Linked DNA regions of Homo sapiens: region 2 is linked to region 1. The links are contacts of gene promoters, found by promoter capture Hi-C in blood cells and fetal thymus (Javierre and others, 2016). All regions are on one chromosome and are shown on one strand. Each heading gives the region's core, a stretch centred on a gene start or on the middle of the fragment in contact. The rest is flanking DNA. Distances are from core to core; before and after follow the strand shown. Region 1 holds the start of BAZ1B (bromodomain adjacent to zinc finger domain 1B). Region 2 holds the start of RSBN1L (round spermatid basic protein 1 like).

Region 1 (2,747 bases), core at 114-2,613:
TCAAATAGTATTCACTAGCACCTACAATGTTCCGAGCCAGGTGCTGAGTATCATGGGAGAAAAAAAAAAAAAGCCAGAGTCACAGCTCTGGCAGGGCGTGGTGGCTCACGCCTGTAATCCCAACACTTTGGGAGGCCGAGGCGGGTGGATCACCTGAGATCAGGAGTCCGAGACCAGCCTGACCAACATGGTGAAACCCCGTCTCTACAAAATACAAAAAATAGCCGGGTGTGGTGGCGCGCACCTGTAGTCCCAGCTACTCGGGAGGCCGAGGCAAGAGAATAGCTTGAACCCGGGAGGGAGAGGTTGCAGTGAGCCGAGACTGCACCACTGCACTCCAGCCTGGGCAACAAGAGTGAAACTCCGTCTCAAAAAAAAAAATAATGATAATTTTGGGAGGCCTAGGCGGTCGGATCACCTGAAGTCGGGAGTTTGAGACCAGCCTGACCAACATGGAGAAGCCCCGTCTCTACTAATAATACAAAATTGGCCGGGCGTGGTGGTGCACGCCAGTAATTCCAGCTACTTGGGAGGCTGAGGCAGGAGAATCTCTTGAACCCGGGAGGCGGAGGTTGCGGTGAGCCGATATCGCGCCATTGCCCTCCAGCCTGGGCGACAGAGCGAGACTCCGTCTCAAAAAAAACAAAAACCAAAAACCAAAAAACTAAGTACGTCTTTTAATCTATTTCTCCAAAGAAGCTTCTATATTCTACTTTCCAGCCAGCCCCTAGAAACAAGCAGTATACTTCTACCCAGATCTCAACCACACTCCCGCCCAGAAGTTAACTCTGGGGTGAGCAAAGCTGGCCCCCACGTTGTCCTTCCGCAGAACCTTTGGTAGGGTAAGCTCCCGGGGCCACTTCCCGCCAACCCCTCCCTGCAGCCCAGCCCCACCCGCGCATCCCCGGGCGTGGCCGAGCACGGCGCCTTTAAGAAGGGGGAGGCGCCCAAGAGGAAAGACAAAGCCCCTGGCCGCGCGCTCACCCTCCCCCTCCGGCGCACCACACGGACAGTGGTGCCCGGATGTCGGTGTCGCCGTCGGTGACAGATGGCGCAGTATCTGTATATGCGAGGGGCTTCTCCGGCTTGACCTCTTTGAGTTCTCGTCCTCTCCATCCCCCGCTGTCCCCCACTTTTAACTCTGCCGTCGGAGGCCCGCACGCCTATCACGGGCGCTTACATAACGTGACCTTTCACCTCTTCAGACTGCCCTCTAGTGCGCTGCAACCCAACTACGCGACAGGGGCAGGGGGGCGGGACCCAGGCGCGGAGCGGCAGCTCCTCCGAGCCAATAGGCTGTGAGCGCTGACCAGCTCTCCGCCTATTGGAGCATTCGCCACCGGCGCCACGGGGGAGCAAGTTAGTGTGTGCGTTGGCCGGGCCCGGGGGAGGAGGGGAATCTCCCGCCATTTTTCAATAATTTCCTCCGGTGCTGCTGAGGAGGAGTCGTGACTGCCGGCCGCCGGGACCCGAAGCGGAGGTCGGCGGGGGGCTGCTGGGAGGCGCGGCGGTGTGCGCGGGAGCTCTGCGCCGTGGCGTTCCGCTCCATGACTGTCGCGCGGCCGCGCCGGCGGTGAGGGAGCCGGAGTTCGCGCCGCCCTCTCACCCCTCCCTTCCCCCACCCCACCCCCGGGCGCCTGGCGCTCGCTCCGGGCCGCGGGGCCTAGTGCTGCGCCGCGGGGCCGGCCCCAGCAGCCGCCAGTCCCCACCGCCGCCGCCGCGATGGCGCCGCTCCTGGGCCGCAAGCCCTTCCCGCTGGTGAAGCCGTTGCCCGGAGAGGAGCCGCTCTTCACCATCCCGCACACTCAGGAGGCCTTCCGCACCCGGGAGTATCCTTTTCCAGCCGCGCGGGCCGGGCTGGGCCGGGCTGGGCCGGGGTAGGGCCTGGGGCTCGCGAGACCAGGTCAGCCGCGCATCCCCGGCCCGGGGCAGCTGTCAGCGCGCCCCGGCCGCTCGCGGGCCTGGAGGCTGAGTCTCAGCCTGCGCCCGCCGATCCTTCCAGGGGATCCGGCGGGGGGCGCGCACCGGCCCTGGAAGGAGAAGGGCCCGCTTCGGCCGCCCCCGGGGCCCCGCACTTTGTCCCGGGGCCTCGCCGGCGAGGAGCGCATCCCCCATCCCCATTACCTTCCCCGGGTTGGCTTTAGGCCTTGAGGACCCGAGAGGGAGGAGGAGGCGTGGGGAGGGGGAGCTAGGTTTTCTCCTTTAATTTTTACAAAAATTTTTTAAAAATTTAAATGAAACCTGCAGCTTAAGTTTTGAAATTGTACTCGCGCGGCCTCGTGATGCGGCGTGTGCAAGACTCAACTGCGTCTTACCCCGATCTCTGCGGGGATACTTGGCGTTTTTTTCGTCTCCCGAGGGGACTTTAGGCCGGGGATGAACTGACAGGACCCTGGGGCAGAAAACTAGGAATGAGATTCCCCGCTTAGAGGAAAGGGAGGGAAGGAAACTGCCTGTGGAGGAGCTGATGCCTGCCTTCCCTGGGCAGACACAGGTTTGAAATTTTGAAGGTTTAGAAGGAGATTGGTATTTGTTAAAATTAAACAAACAAAAAAACCAAGACGTGAAGTTTTTATGTTGTATTTTAGGAACATGAAATTGGATGTTTTACAAAGGAAGCATCCTCTCGTCATGACTAAGATTTCTTGCATAAGCATTATCTTTTAGTGAAAAGTTGTGCAGCTTTTATTTGCTTTTTTTTAATGGGTGCCAGAAGAATCGTTTTTGAGGCTTATCTGTAAAAAAAA
Region 2 (2,747 bases), core at 134-2,633, 4.2 Mb before region 1:
ACTGACCCTGTCTGACAAGAACCCTTAAGAATTCGCCTTTTTCTAATGCTCAAACATTCTGCAGCCGCTTGATCTGGCGAAAAATCGTCAAAGCTCCTGGTTTTATCATTTGCTGCAGGGAAAAAAAGAATATGGCTGAAAATTCTTTCAGAAGGGTGGTATTTCAAACAGGACCACCCAAAACACTTAAGAATACGCAGCGGAGAGTAGGGTGCAGGGAGGGTACCTTACGAAACAGCGCACTTCGGGCCCTGCACGCTACCTCATTTCCCTAATAGGGATGAAAAGCTCAGGCCTCTGGTAGCTTCCAGCTGACGCCAGTGCTCTCTCCACACCCCTTTTTTGACAGGATTATCCGGGGTTGAACGCTGTGTCACAAATACGAATTCCCGCGACCACGTCTAAGTGGTCTAACAATCAATCAAGCATCTTTTACAAAACCAAACCCTTCCCCCATCCCGTTCCCTCCATCTCTCTCCCTAGCCAAACAAACCTAGGAGAGTCCTCAAGATGGATTTTCACAAATCCTGCAGCGCACTAACTGGGAGGAAGAAACGATACAGAAAATAAGAGTGTCGGCCATCCCCCTCTCTGCAACCGAAATTACAGGCTCCATTTCCTGTCCCCTTGGGAACTGCAAAATCCTCTGCTGAAAACCGGACGCCTCCCAGCCCCTCCAGGCCGGCGCACGCGGCCGCCGCGCTCCCCCTTCCCGGGCCCCGTGGGCGCCAGGGGGCGGCGGGGACCCACGGCGCCCTCCCCTCCCCCTCCCCGCACGGCACCCACCTCGGGGCAGCGGCTTCACCTCCCCGTTCTCCTCCCGGGAGGCCCCGCCGGCCTCTCGGGCCCCACCGAGACCGTGCCTCCTCCTCTCCTTCTCCCGCTTCTCCTTAGGTCTGCGCGACTTGGCGTTAGCCGAGGCAGCGGCGGCGGCGGCGGGCAGGAGGAGATGGTGAGGCTGAGCGTGCAGCAGCGTAGGAGGGACCAGCAGTTTGCGCGGCACCGGCTGAGACAAGGAAGCGGAGGCTGAGGAGGGAACGGCCGTGCCAGCGGAGAAAGAGAAACTGCTCCGAGAAGAGGACGGGGAGGGAGCAGCAGACAGAGGGGCAAAGCTCCAAGACGCGGGGCTGCCATAGCTCTGAGGCGAAGGTGCTGCCGGCGGCTGCAGCTGCCTGCTGTTCCCGCCGCTGCCCCCTTCTCCGTTCACTCTCCGCGGTGCCTTCTTCTCCTCAGTCCGGACCTTCTTGGCGGACAGAGAACCCGGAGGGTCCCGGGAGGAGAGTTGCAGCTTGCCAAACGGTTCTTTCTCCGAGACGGTGGCGGTGGGGGCCGCGGCAGCGACACAGTGCACGGGGCTCGGCGGTTCCGCCATTTTGCGCTCCTGTTGTATTTACTCTCCTCCGCTAGCCGGCGCGGGGCAGGGGGCGGGCCCTCCGCGAGGGGTAGGGAAGGGGCGGAGCGGCCAGGCCACCAGCCGGCATTGCTCCATTGGGCAAGCCACGCTGAGGGATCCACCTAAGAGCCAATCAAAGGCACAAACATCAGACGAAGGGGCGGGATCGCCACAGGGACCCTCTTCGGAGGTCAGAGCTCGGCGGGGTGCGGCTAGTGGCGGAGCGCGCTGCGAGGGGAGGGCTTTCCACTGTCGCTGGCGTGAACTCGCGTGCCCGGTGGGTATCAGGGAAGAACCCCCGCCCCGGACCCCCAGATCTGCCATGGCCGAGGTAGCGATCGTCTCTGCGGCCACGAAGACTGTTTTAACTTGTACCACTTTCCCTTCCATTTTTCCTGGGGTGCCTCTCACCCTGCATCTGCGCGTTCAGCAAGCTGGATTTCGGGAATGCTCAGTTCAGAAGAGAAAAAATTGCCGGGAATCAAGTCCTTCTTTTTGTTAGTCGGTAGTCGATTGATGGGAAGTGTTCAAAATCATTCGATGTGGTGACAAGGTACGTTATTATTGCTAGATCATGTGCTGTAATCCATTGAAGGAGATAACTTCCAGCAAATCTAGAACTTTAGTATTACTTACAAGCTTGAAGGTGAGAGTCTCCCTTTGGAGACTTTTGAACTGTTGTGACTAGACCCTTAAGATTTTTATTTTATTTATTTATTTATTTATTGGGACGGAGTTTTGCTCTGTTGTCGAGGCTGGAGTGCCGTGGCGCGATCTCGGCTCACCGCAACCTCCGCCTCCCAGATTCAAGCGATTCTCCTGCCTCAGCCTCCCCAGTAACAGGGACTACAGGCGTCCGGCACCATGCTTGGCTAATTTTTGTGTTTATTAGAGACGGGGTTTCACCATGTTGGCCAGGCTGGACTCGAACTCCTGATCTCAGGTGAGCGGCCCACCTCCGCTTCCCAAAGTGCTGGGATTACAGGCGTGAGCCACCATGTGCGGCCTTAAGATTTGAATTTTATAATAATTATTATAGCCGGGCGCGGTGGCTCACACCTGTAATCCCAGCACTTTGGGAGACCGGGGCGGGCGGATCACGAGGTCAGAAGTTCGAGACCAGCCTGACCAACATGGTGAAACCCCGTCTCTACTAAAAATGCAAAAATTAGCTGGGCATGGAAGCGCGCACCTGTAATCCCAGCTACTGGGGAGGCTGGGGCAGGAGAATCGCTTGAACCCAGGAGGCGGAGGTTGCAGTGAGCCGAGACTGCGCCACTGCACTCCAGCTTGGGCGACAGGGCAAGACTCCGTCTCAAAAAATAATAATAATAATAATAATATTATTATTATT

What was found. Contacts are between HindIII fragments. The CHiCAGO score rates a contact against its expected background, and 5 or more counts as called.
Region 2: a contact is called between the fragment with the promoter of RSBN1L here and the fragment with the promoter of BAZ1B in region 1, in 1 of 17 cell types (non-activated CD4 T cells). The highest score is 8.4, in non-activated CD4 T cells.

The regions. Positions count from the first base shown.
Region 1 is chr7:73,520,909-73,523,655 of GRCh38, reverse strand. It overlaps BAZ1B (bromodomain adjacent to zinc finger domain 1B), which reads left to right and starts at 1,363. Exons shown (of 20, transcript NM_032408.4): 1 at 1,363-1,829. The coding sequence starts at 1,723. RefSeq lists silencers at 750-889, 1,240-2,119 and an enhancer at 1,020-1,179. The HindIII fragment of the contact is 2,091 bases long and covers 702-2,747 here.
Region 2 is chr7:77,695,095-77,697,841 of GRCh38, reverse strand. It overlaps RSBN1L (round spermatid basic protein 1 like), which reads right to left and starts at 1,383. Exons shown (of 8, transcript NM_198467.3): 1 at 787-1,383. The coding sequence starts at 1,372. APTR (Alu-mediated CDKN1A/p21 transcriptional regulator) reads left to right here and starts at 1,577. Exons shown (of 2, transcript NR_134254.1): 1 at 1,577-1,946. RefSeq lists silencers at 163-262, 553-872, 1,343-1,562 and enhancers at 1,083-1,312, 497-1,392, 1,393-2,288. The HindIII fragment of the contact is 2,163 bases long and covers 1-2,034 here.